3 separate regions of the Homo sapiens genome follow, and regions 1 and 3 are each linked to region 2. The links are contacts of gene promoters, found by promoter capture Hi-C in human tissues and cell types (Jung and others, 2019). All regions are on one chromosome and are shown on one strand. The core of a region is centred on a gene start or on the middle of the fragment in contact, and the rest is flanking DNA. Distances in the headings are between cores, read along the strand shown.

Region 1 (3,886 bases), core at 726-3,225, 300 kb before region 2:
ATTTTTAGTATTTTGATTATGCTATGCAACCAAATTTCCTTTTTAAATTATTCTGCTTAAATAAATGATTTGACTCTGGTCTGAAGTATTATTTCTTTTGAAATATTTGGAATTCTGTTAAGGTTGTATAGGTAAAGCTTGTAGCTTCGCCCTTATCTGATTATAGGGAGTGTGTCCTACTTTGAGGCACCCCTTCCTCTAGATTTGAAAATACAAATTAACTTAGAAGTTAAACCTATAATTGCTGTGTCAAGCTATATTTGTTCTTTGTTCCAACAGCCAATTGTGGGATAAAAACCTCTTCCTAGGATAAAAAAACCTTTAGTAAGGACTGTAGGACAATTAAATAAATCAATGAGTTGATTGATAGTGAAGGGTTGAAAAATGACTAATTTGTGAATTTAGGATGCAGACTAGTTACTGACTTTGCAGGACTTCCTATGAAATTAGTTTAGCTGCATAGATGTAGATTCAGTTGGCCACTATTACAGCTGGTGAATGTGGCTTGGAAATATCTGTTATACCAGGTTCTCAGGGAAAAGTGCCTGTGAGCCACATACCTAGGAATAAAAATTGAAGAAAGTCTTTCCATATGAGTCATTCATTTGATATTTAGCTCTGTAATCTTATTTACTGACTGATATTCTCATTTTAAATTACTTTTTTTTTTTTTTGCAATGTAAGTGCTTAATTCATTTTCTCTGAGTGGTAGGAATTTATATTTGTTGCCAACCAAATGTTTAAGGTAGGTAAAGCAAACTGAGTGTTAAGTTTATAAGAATCATTTTGATAAAAATTCTAAAAATATTTTAAAGCTTTTTTTTTCTTTCTTTCTTTTTTTTTTTTTCGAGACGGAGTATTGCTCTGTTACCCAGGCTGGAGTGCAGTGGCGCAATCTCGGCTCATTGCAAGCCGAGTTTACGCCATTCTCCTGCCTCAGACTCCCGAGTAGCTGGGACCACAGGTGCCCACCACCACACCCAGCTAATTTTTTATATTTTTAGTAGAGACGGGGTTTCACCATGTTAGCCAGGATGGTCTCGATCTCCTGACCTCGTGGTCCACCCACCTCGGCCTCTCAAAGTGCTGGGATTACAGGCGTGAGCCACCGCACCCGGCCTTTAAAGCTTTTAAAGATATATTTTCTCTGGTTTTTAGTTTGCAATGAAAATGCTTTTAAATGTCTTATGTACCATTGTTAGATTTTTTAATCTTCAGGAGAGGGGAGACTTTTCCCTTGATTCTGAATTATAAAGTAAGATTAACTTTTTGCAAATTTTCTTCTCTGAATAATTGTATTTTACCTAAAATCGGGAGAGAAAGGATCACCATTTGATATCATGTTCATAGTGATAATTATAAAAAATAAGAATTATCTTCTCTACTTTTAGTTGAATACCTATACTGAAAATATACAAAGAGAGAAGACCCTGACATTCTGAGCTGATGAAATAATTAAAACACACACACAGGATCACTGAAATTTAGAGTTAGTAGGGATCATATAATCTCATTTTTCTTTTCTTTTTTTTTTTTTTGAGATGGAGTCTCGCTCTGTCGCCCAGGCTGGAGTGCAGTGGCGTGATCTCGGCTCACCACAAGCTCCGCTTCCCGGGTTCAGGCCATTCTCTTGCCTCAGCCTCCCGAGTAGCTGGGACTACAGGCGCCCACCACCATGCCTGGCTAATGTTTTGTATTTTTTTTTATTGGAGATGGAGTTTCACCTTGTTGGCCAGGATGGTCTTGATCTCCTGACTTGGTGATCCCCCCGCCTCGGCCTCCCAAAGTGCTGGGATTACAGGCGTGAGCCACCGCGCCCGGCCAATCTCATTTTTCAAACTTAAGTAATGTACTCCTATTAAAGAAAGACATTCTTTTTGATTTACAATATATTAGAAAGCTTTTGGTTGCAAGTGACAGAAACTCAACTTGAACCCATAGAGAATTGATGCACATAATTTTAATTGCTTGCGGGATTGGGTTAGCTGTGAATTTAGCTAATCAAATAATGTTGCCAAAATTCTGTCTGTCTCTGTGTCTATCTAACTATCTATCTGTCTGTCTATCTATCTATGTATCTACCTATCTCTATTTATCTTTTCATCTATCTACTCTGTTTACCTGCCCTTCCTTGCATCTATTTATCTGTCCATGTATCCATTTGTTCATGTATTCATCTATCCATGTATCTTTTGGCCCTGTGCTGTGTTGGCTTTATTTTCTTGCATGCTTTCTTCATGTGCTGAGAGTTTCTACTTGTTAACTGTATGTGGGTCTTAAACTTCTGATATTAGAGAGGTGCCTTCTTATCCATATCAGTCTTCCCCAGATTACCCTGGTCTCACCTGGGTCACATCCCAACTCTGAACCAATCATTGTATTCGGGAGAGTAGGGTTGTTTGACTGTTTTGTTGGGGCACGTAGCCCATAAGGTGATATATCATTGGGGAGGGTACATTCCCAAAAGAAAGTGATGTGGGCAGACCCAGAAGTTCTAGATGTCTACCATAACTAGTGTTGACTTCCTTTTATTTTAATGTTAGTGAAGTGTGGAATTCTTAGAAGTAGAATAAATAAAAGCAGATATAATTTAATCATAGTTACAACATTTATGCAACTGTAATGCCAAAATACATTCTCAGTTAATTACGAACAAAATGATAAAACCACAGCCAAATGCAGATTTACAGCATTCATTAAAACACTCTTGCAAAGTAGATATGGTTCTAACTATCTGAAAAACAGTATGGTAAGTCAGCTGGCCTTTGCTACAATTTGGCCTATAATGATTTCACTTCTCCCACTGGGTCTCTCTGAACAATCATGAAACTTATTCCTCTAGCACAGCATACCAGCTTTCATTTTTTACTTGCTATGAAGGCATATATGCATATTAAATTTACGTCTTTTATTTTCTCATTAACACAAATATAAACCTTAGAACTAAAATTGCAGGGCAGTAGTTGGTAATAAGATGGTCTTCCCAGTAACTGAAAGCAATTTCTTTCACTTTCTTTTGTTTTGATTATGATTATTGTGAAAATATAAAATTAGAACATTTTATAGAACAAAGTAAAGATCTTCAAAACATACTTGTTTTGAATTCTGTGGGCTCTCAAACCTCAGATAAATGCCATTGTAGTCCAGTCTCTCCCATATCTAAACTGCAAAGCCAACTGATTTACATGTTTAGTGCATAGATTTGAGTTATTGTTTTCTTTCAGAAGTGGTAGGTTTTCCTTTAAGCAACTTCTTTTATACCATGTGTTGTGAATGTACAGAAAATTACAAAATATTTTGTCCCTTCCAATTCTCAGTCAAATTTGAAGTTAAAATCATATGAAGCAATTCTGCATTTTAAGGTTCTCAGATGTTTTCATAGCTGGAGCAAACTTAGAAATACTAAATAACTTTGGGCAGACTCTTCATTTCCTTACCATGCCAGACCCAAGCGAACTACTCACTGTAACATCAGAGTAGAGGTTATTGGAGGATATCACTTAGAGGTGTCCAAAATCTCCCGTTTTGTTTAATAATAGTCTGTTAATCTCTTAATCATCTAAACCATTGCTTCTCAAAAGAAGATGTTGGCATTTGGTGGTGACACTTTTTTGTTGTTAGAGGCTGTCTAGTGCATAGCAGGACATTTAACATCCCTGAACTCCAGACACTAAATGCCAGGGCCACCCCCATCCATGTGATGGAAAATCTATTCCCACACATTTCCAAATGCCCCTCAAGGGTTGGCACCACTACTTGATTAGGAGCCACTGTTGTGAACCCTTTGAAATTGATTTCTGTTTATGGTGAAGGGCCCTAGATAGGACAGCCTTAGGCTTCAACCCCAGACCTACTTTTCTAAGAGGAAGACTTTAGGTGCATTATT
Region 2 (4,261 bases), core at 570-3,069:
AGTAGCTGGGACTACAGGCATGTGCCATTACACCTGGCTAATTTATTTTATTATAATTGTTACAGCCAGGCTCTCCCTATGTTGCTTAGGCTGGCCTCAAACTGCTGGTTTCGAACTCCTGGCCTGAAGTGATTCTCCTGCCTCAGCCTCTCTAATAGCTGGGATTACAGGCAAGAACCACTGCACCAGGCAACTCTTTTTCTTTTTTGTTTTTTTTTGTTTTTTGTTTTTTTGTTTTTTTGTTTTTTTGTTTTTTGAGACGGAGTCTCGCTCTGTCGCCCAGGCTGGAGTGCAGTGGCACGATCTCGGCTCACTGCAAGCTCCGCCTCCCGGGTTCACGCCATTCTCCTGCCTCAGCCTCCCGAGCAGCTGGGACTACAGGCGCCCACCACCACGCCCGGCTAATTTTTTTTGCATTTTTAGTAGAGACGGGGTTTCACCGTGTTAGCCAGGATGGTCTCGATCTCCTGACCTCGTGATCCGCCCGCCTCGGCCTCCCAAAGTGCTGGGATTACAGGCGCGAGCCACCGCGCCCGGCCTCTTTTTCTTTTTTAATGAAATAATAGAGCTAGTAGAAAATAGTTTGCTTTTTAAAGTGCTTACTTAATAAAATAAAAAGTGGGCAACTCGAAATAAAAAATCAAACAATATCTAACATGTTTAAAAGATTTTTAAAAATCAAAATATAAAATAATATCAAAATTTAAAAACTGGGATTCTGTTCCCCAAAGTTCTGTTCAAATCTGTTAGATTTATCTTCCCTTGACCCTAAGTAATATCTTGGGCAAGCCCTAGAGCTTCTTTCCTGACCCTTAGTTAATAAGATGTTATCTGGTCACATTCAGTCACAATAATAGACTCATTTTAGTAATAAACATCTTAAGACTAGTAATTAAAACTCTTTACTTCACACCAAGTTTCCTCCCCAAGCTTGGCCTGTTCCTGGCTGGCAGCCTGAAGTAGGGAAAGGAGAGATATGGTGACCTTTTCTTTGTACCTTTCTAGCTACCCTCTATACCCTGACCCTACATACATAATTGAGCTGTGGCTTCTGACTCTACTGGGTTTGGGGATGAGAGGCATTGAGAGTAAAATGAAGGAGTGGTTTTAATTAATGGCACAGCTAAAACTGGATTTTGTTCTCTCTGCACATGGCAGATGTTTAAAGCTCATTCTTTCTTTTATGCAAGTTTTTACACCATCCAGCCTCATTTGTACCTCTTGAATTTTTGCTCAGTGGCCTATCACCATTCAGGATCAAGACAAAAATCAATGAGCACTTATTGTGTGTCATGCACCCTACAAAGTGCCAGGATATTTATCCAAACTCCTGGCAATGCTAAACACAATGCAAAAAGACATATTAGAAAACGAATCTTATTAACTTTAACTTTTCAACTGTATTTCATCATAAAGTCTTACTTTACAAGATAATTGCTGTTGTGAAAAAGGGAAAGGTCATGGTCTCATTTCCCAGATGTTATTTGATATATGCTATAAATTATATTACCTCCAACATAGTCTGCACTTTGAACTTAGAAAAACAATCTTCAGACGGCATGCATTCTAATTCTTGAAATAAGTATGCCCACAAACTGTAATTTAAGACAGAATAGGTATGCTTCTCATGTTTTAATTCAGTTGAATTTCAGAAGATCTCAGGAATGTACAGAACGAGAATTAAGAATTAATTAATAAGAATTAATTAATTGCTTGACATAGTTAGGTGATTTCCTGAACTTTAAGCTTCCACATCACAGTATGAAGTTGGTTCTAAGATAAGAAATATAATAAATTCTCGCCCAAGGACAGACCTGAATCTCTAGCTGCCTAGAGGCTGACTCAACTGAAATCATGGCGTTTGACAGCACTTGGAAGGTAGACCGGAGTGAAAACTATGACAAGTTCATGGAAAAAATGGGTAAAGACTTTATTTCTTTGTGGCTCATTCTTTGCTTTCTTACAAACATTTTTCTTTCTAACTCCTAAATCTCTAGGAGATTACAGATAGCTTACAGATAGCTCCTGATGTGGTAGAGAGGATCCAGAAGATGTTCAGAGGAGGGAAACCATATTCTCCCTTCTTACATTAGGAAGAATCCACTATCTCACTAATGGAAGAAAAGATTCTTTGAGTGCTGTTCTCTGAAACACACCAAAAAGATCCAGAAATGTTTCCTTCCCTCTTTAACTGAAAAATGACTTTTTTTGTTGTTTACAGTAAGAAAATGGCAGCGTGTAATGATAACTTCCAGATCTGAAAATGTTAAATTCTAGGAGATGGAAAAACAAAGACCATATAAGAAAGTAATGGAAAAGGTTCTCTTAAAATTTATAGCGCTGAATAAGTTAGATTTAATTCTGATTTCTTCTAACTTAAAAAAGTTTTGGAATAATCTTGAGAAGCTGTGTAGTTTTCTCCAGGGCGTTTAATTTAACTGATTTATAATTTGATACCAATACTCTGGCAGCCCATATACTATACAAGATAGGCAAACAAATTTGTGTCATTCCCCTAAAAGAAAAATCTGCATCAATTATAGCTTACAGTTTAGGAACTCTAAGTTTAAATTTATAAAAGTTGTAGATTCTTATAGTGATTTTGGCTTAATATTTGCTAATTTTCTCATTTTTGTGTCAGAAAGAAATGCCACAAGAAGCAAATAGAACTATAAAGTTCAAAATGTTAAAGCCACTAAGAAAAACAAAGGGGCATTTAAGAAAAAAGAATACTGTATATGTGGAATTAAAGATGTGCTTCCTTATAAATATATGAATATACATTTTAATCCTTCATTTGATATTTCTAGAATTTGATTTACTTAACACTGAAATGAACAGTTTGTTAATCTTATTAAGGTTGCTCAGCTCTAAGATTCTATAATTCTGTACTCTACTTAATTTTTCTCAAGTTATGGAAAAACAACTTTAATCAGTTCTCTTGATCTGATTGAACCTGAACTTCTGTAGAAGCAATCTGAATGTTCTTGTGCAAAGGCAATGCTACCGAGTTTTCTTCCCACCCTCAAAATAAACAAACAAAACATAACTTGGAAAAATAAACACTTCCTATGGGATTTGACTTTATTTTCTCCATTGTCTTACCTTTTACAGGTGTTAATATAGTGAAAAGGAAGCTTGCAGCTCATGACAATTTGAAGCTGACAATTACACAAGAAGGAAATAAATTCACAGTCAAAGAATCAAGCACTTTTCGAAACATTGAAGTTGTTTTTGAACTTGGTGTCACCTTTAATTACAATCTAGCAGACGGAACTGAACTCAGGGTAAGAATTTTTTTTTTTATGAGCAATGCATTCTTGATTTTTCTACCCAATATTAAAATGATTTCTGCTCTATTTCATTGGATGGTTTAATTAATGCAGGTCTCCTTCACTAACTGAAGAAGCCAATGAAGTTTGTCTACATTATATATTGCACAAATTGGCAGGATATTTAAATATGTTTTTATTTTTATACGCATCTGTGAAGAATCTGAATTGAACAGTAAGAATTAGAAAACTATCTTTTGAATGACTGAATATAGACCTATTCATAAAGAAATTTAAAACTGTGTTTTTAAACAGTACAGCAAAAGAAGCCTTTAGAGTTAATATGTAACTTAACTGTAATAGCAATTTAACATGTTGAAATAATAAAAGAAATGAATAGATGAACAAATGAGTGAGTTACCAAATGGAAAGATTTGATGTATTGTAGGTCATTGGGAGTGTACCTTTTCATGTTTAAGATAACACATTTTAGGAAGTCATCATTTTCAACAAATTTTTTAAAAACTTTTTTTAGCCTCAACATTTTTCTATTTAAATTACATGTTTGTAATGACAATTTAACTACTGAATGTTTTATCATAAGTTATGTCTTTCTTTAATTAGTACCACAATCACACAAATTAAAACAAGCACAGAGTTGTTAACATCTCCATGAAACTAATTTTAACCATGACTATATTTCTGGACACGTAACATGAAAGATTCAGAAAGAAGTGCTGCTCATCTGCCTTAAAATTCAGCGTATGGAAATTATTGAAGAGAACAAGCATAATGGTTATCAACACATACTCTGTAGCCCAATGGCCTAGGTTCAATCCTCACTCTGTGACTTTAGGTGAATCACTGTGCCATTTTACAGTCTCCTCTTCTGCAAAGTAGAGATAATAGTATCAGTTTCATAGGGTCACCATGAAGATTAAATGAAAAAGTGTGTCTACAGAACTCAGAACAGTGCCTGACATGTGTAA
Region 3 (4,429 bases), core at 1,760-4,259, 350 kb after region 2:
TGTGTTTAGCTCAAGGTTTGTGAGTGCACCAATCGACACTCTGTATCTAGCTGCTCTGGTGAGGACGTGGAGAACCTTTATGTCTAGCTCAAGTATTGTAAATACACCAATCGGCATTCTGTATCTAGCTCAAGGTTTGTAAACACACCAGTCAGCACCCTGTGTTTAGCTCAAGGTTTGTGAATGCACCAATCGACACTCTGTATCTAGCTGCTCTGGTGGGGCCTTGGAGAACCTGTGTGTGGAAACTCTGTATCTAACTAATCTGATGGGGACGTGGAGAACCTTTGTATCTAGCTCAGGGATTGTAAATGCACCAATCAGCGCCCTGACAAAACAGGCCACTCGGCTCTACCAATCAGCAGGTTGTGGGTGGGGCCAGATAAGAGAATAAAAGCAGGCTGCCCTAGCCAGCATTGGCAACCCGCTAGGGTCCCCTTCCACAGTGTGGAAGCTTTGTTCTTTTGCACTTTGCAATAAATCTTGCTACTGCTCACTCTTTGGGTCCACGCTGCTTTTATGAGCTGTAACACTCACCGCGAAGATCTGCAGCTTCACTCTTGAGACCACGAGCCCAGCGGGAGGAATGAATAACTCCAGACGCGCTGCCTTAAGAGCTGTAACACTCACTGCAAAGGTCTGCAGCTTCACTCCTGAGCCAGCGAGACCACGAACCCACCAGAAGGAAAAAACTCCGAACACATCTGAACATCAGAAGGGACAGACTCCAGACGTGCCAACTTAAGAGCTGTAACACTCACCGCGAGAGTCCGCGGCTTCATTCTTGAAGTCAGTGAGACCAAGAACCCACCAATTCTGGACACAAAGTCACTAGAGTCAATCCAGTTATTGGGCAAGAAAGATTTCAAAAGCTCTGGTAGGGGACAGGGAGTCTATTAATAAATGGCAGTCTCCATAGCCGGCACTTTTATATTTTTGCAACAAATCTGTAAAATATTTATTTTTCTCCTGACTTTGAGGAAAGTAAGGCTCACAAAAGTTATGGGACTTGTGTCTGATCATACAGCTAGTGGCAGGAGAATGAAATTCAAGTTCAAAGGCATTTACTATGGTAGATTCCCTCTCAGGCTGTGGAGCACATATTCTTAGCCCTGTGTTTTTTGGGGTATGAGACTGGGTCACTTAATGCTGGTTGGCTCTGATCCAGAGTCCAAGTTTTGATGATTAGGCTTCTGCCTTGTGCTAGGGAACTAATCCTGTAACTATATCCCTGTGTGTCTTACTCTTTGTGACTTAATTGTGCCCTTAATAAATTGTGTGGTAACCCAGCTCTTCTATGACAGGAATTTCCCCTTGCACCTCCTCCTCCTTCCTGGGGGTGAAAGTCCTGCTCTTGAATTTCGCCTGATTGCTTGGACTCTGCTACCACTTGTTAGTAGATATCCCAAGTCCTGTCTGTGTGTATCCTTAAGTTCCTCATAATGGTTGTATTGGATCCTTCATCTCTGTTTGTCATTCATATGCCAGCCTATTCCCACTCTTAAAGCTTGGCTTTTTCTGAAAGGAACTTCTTGCCCAGACAACCCCAAATTTTCTGTTGCCATAGGTGCCCAAACTCTATTCTACTTGTTGATTAGTCTTCCTTCTAGCAGTAGTACTACATAGATTTTGGGATCTGTCACCCAAATTATTTGTTACTCTGTGTGCTGGTCTTTGTCTAGCTCCTTTAGCCCAATGACTGAGCGATATGTGGCCCATAAGATAAGTATGACAGAACAGTGGTGGGAAAGAGTCTGGTGTACTCCTGGAGGTGCAGAGGGTGGCCTCACGTGGGTGCAAGGTGTGTGTGACAGGTTATTGAAAGTAAGGTTGGATTACTGGGGTAGAACCATATTGAAAAGAGTTTTGAATGCCAGAATGTAACACTTGGCTCTCATCCAGTAGTGATGAGAAATTATTATTGGTTTGTAAGCACTCTAGGGAGATTAGTCAGTGTGTAGGATGGACTAGACAGGAGATGACTGAAGATAGAGAAACAAGGAAACCATTAAAGTTCTGCAAAAACAACGTGATGAGAGCCTGGATTAGAGTTATCTGTAATAACCCCAGGAAGGAGGTAAGAGACAACATTTGAAGCAAACTGCACCTTAGTGAGAGATAGGGTATGTAGAGAAGCAGAAGTCAAGGATGAATCTAAAGTCCTAATAATGGTGATGCTGTTGGTAGAAGAAAGAAACATAGGGAAAGAATCAAAATCTGGGGAAAGAAACCCTAAAATCCCAGCTCTCTTTTCAAAATTTTCAGTATTAACATTGATTGTATGTGAGAACATTGCTAGCAAGTATCCAAGCAAAGGGATGTGTTAAAATCAATCAAATTGTTGAATTAAGACTAGAAGACAAATGAAAAATCAAGGCTGAACATATCAATTAGGGATAGATGTGGGAGAAGTCATAGGTGTGGACAAGTGAACTGTGAGGGAAGTCAAACCTAATCTGGCAAGAAATCCAGTTTTCCACAATATTCTGGGTCTAGGCCTCTGCTGGGCCAGTGGCCAAGGATGGGCAAGAGAGTCAAGGATGGACTGTATATTCACAAACAAGAAAGCCTGTTATATAACTTGGCTCTAAAAAGAGCCACCACTACAACTAGGTATGGAATCTCTAAGGCCTGAGATACAATACCTGTGTGAGATTTTCTATCTCATCCCACTGAGAAATGCTACAGATGCCACTTGCTACGGCTGATTCCCTTTGAGCACTAAAATTTACTCTCCCACTAAAGGTGTTGTAGAAATGCCTCTTTTCTTAGCTCAAACATAATTATTGTCCAGGTTTAATATTTAGCTATGTTTAACTCTCATTCTCAACTCTCTTTTCAAAAATTAAAATCATATGACCAAGATAAGCAGGTTGATGATTTAAGTCAGCGTCCTCAGCTGTATAATGGGAACAATAATACCTGACTCCTGCTTTTGTGAAGAAAGAAGAATCTTAAAACAGGTCAATGAAGAATTTACTTGTGTTAAACTATGTTCTGAGTGATGTTAGATTGCTTATTTCAGTGGGGTTTGTTTAGGTTTTATGTCCAGTGGCTACTGATTGGTGTAGCCTATATAGCTTTTATGTAACTTCAGGACCAAACTAGGCTTCTTTTAGTTCTGATACTAATTAATATCCAAAATTGTGGTTAGGAAAATGAAAGGAAAGAAGAAAAAAATGTGGCTATTTATGGTGGGTTCTTTTGTGGGGAGGGAATTTTTTGGCTATGAACTGGCATTTGCCCAACAGTATTCCGAGTTCAGTAAATAACTCAACACGCATGGGTTAAATTTCCAATAAAAACATGAAGCTTAAAAAGTAAGTGGAAAGTACTTGGCAAGATACATATTTACATTTGGTGAAGGGAAATTTTTATGGTGGTTAGCCAAACCTGACATGCACAGGGATTAATTCATCCTCACTCATCACAGAAACGAAAACTGCCAGTATCATATCATACGTGCTATGCTGTGGCTTTCTCTTAAAAATCAGCACCACCGTGAAAGGAAGCTGACCTCTGTGTGCACACACTTAGTGCAAGTGTGTGCCTTACTAGAATCATTATACGTATATATGTATAATAAAACTACTTTTTAAAATGCTGAGAAAGTCTTATATTTGAGGTACTATAATTTTAATAATAGTATAATAGAATCCTTGAATTAATAATTCTATAATTGATGGAATTCATATAATAATTAACAGAATTCACATAATAATATAGAATTACTAATTCTATAATTCTGACTTACTCAAAAATTCAAACGTTTTTCACTCTACAGATGCTCCTCAACTTACAATGGGACTATGTCCCACAAAACCCATCATAAATCAAAAAATACCATAAGTCAAAAATGCATTTAATGCATGTATAAGCCCATTGTAAAGTTGAAACATCATAAGTTGAGTTATAATAAGTGGGGACCATTGGTGTGAAAAAGTGGTGTGAATGGGGAGAAAAAGCAGGTGAGCAAGCGGGGATAGCCAGCTTACAAAATATGTATTTCTGATCCTGTAATATCTAATTTGTTTCCAATTTTCAAATGAAAGACACTGAAATTATTAAGCACTCACTATGTGATGAAAAGTAAACTGAACTTTGAGGAGATTTTTGTAGCTTGCCCAAGGTCACAGAACTAGATTTAAACTTAGAGATGTATAACTTAAAATTGTAGGCAGTGGGCAAAACAGTTTCACCCTTGCTGACTCTGTAAACCTGACAACAATCCTAAGAGGACAATGCTAGAAGTGATGGAGAAAAAACAAAGCTAGCACCTAAGAGACAAATTTGCTCGTTTCCCTTCTGAGTTAGTTTAGACAAACTGCCCTTACAGTTTGAAGGGCTTGGAGGAAAAGAAAAAAATACATAAAAAGTGTTTTATTTTCCTATTTGGGGAAATGTAAGGGAATCAGATTCTGCTTGAAAT

Evidence for each region. The method cuts DNA at HindIII sites, captures the fragments that hold promoters and counts their contacts. A contact is called where the count stands out against the background at its distance.
Region 1: a contact is called between a fragment that was not itself captured here and the fragment with the promoter of FABP2 in region 2, in 2 of the 25 tissues and cell types used here (aorta and mesenchymal stem cells).
Region 3: a contact is called between a fragment that was not itself captured here and the fragment with the promoter of FABP2 in region 2, in 1 of the 25 tissues and cell types used here (spleen).

Annotation. Positions count from the first base shown.
Region 1 is chr4:119,619,826-119,623,711 of GRCh38, reverse strand. All of the region lies in intron 1 of PDE5A (phosphodiesterase 5A), which reads left to right. Among named protein-coding and RNA genes, the nearest start is that of PDE5A, 7.0 kb to the left of the region's middle. The HindIII fragment of the contact is 4,889 bases long and covers 1-3,886 here.
Region 2 is chr4:119,319,696-119,323,956 of GRCh38, reverse strand. FABP2 (fatty acid binding protein 2) reads left to right here and starts at 1,819. Exons shown (of 4, transcript NM_000134.4): 1 at 1,819-1,921; 2 at 3,115-3,287. The coding sequence starts at 1,855. The HindIII fragment of the contact is 4,027 bases long and covers 1-2,442 here.
Region 3 is chr4:118,972,470-118,976,898 of GRCh38, reverse strand. All of the region lies in intron 1 of SYNPO2 (synaptopodin 2), which reads right to left. The region is part of intron 2 of SYNPO2-AS1 (SYNPO2 antisense RNA 1); the gene reads left to right. Among named protein-coding and RNA genes, the nearest start is that of SYNPO2-AS1, 10 kb to the left of the region's middle. The HindIII fragment of the contact is 4,055 bases long and covers 982-4,429 here.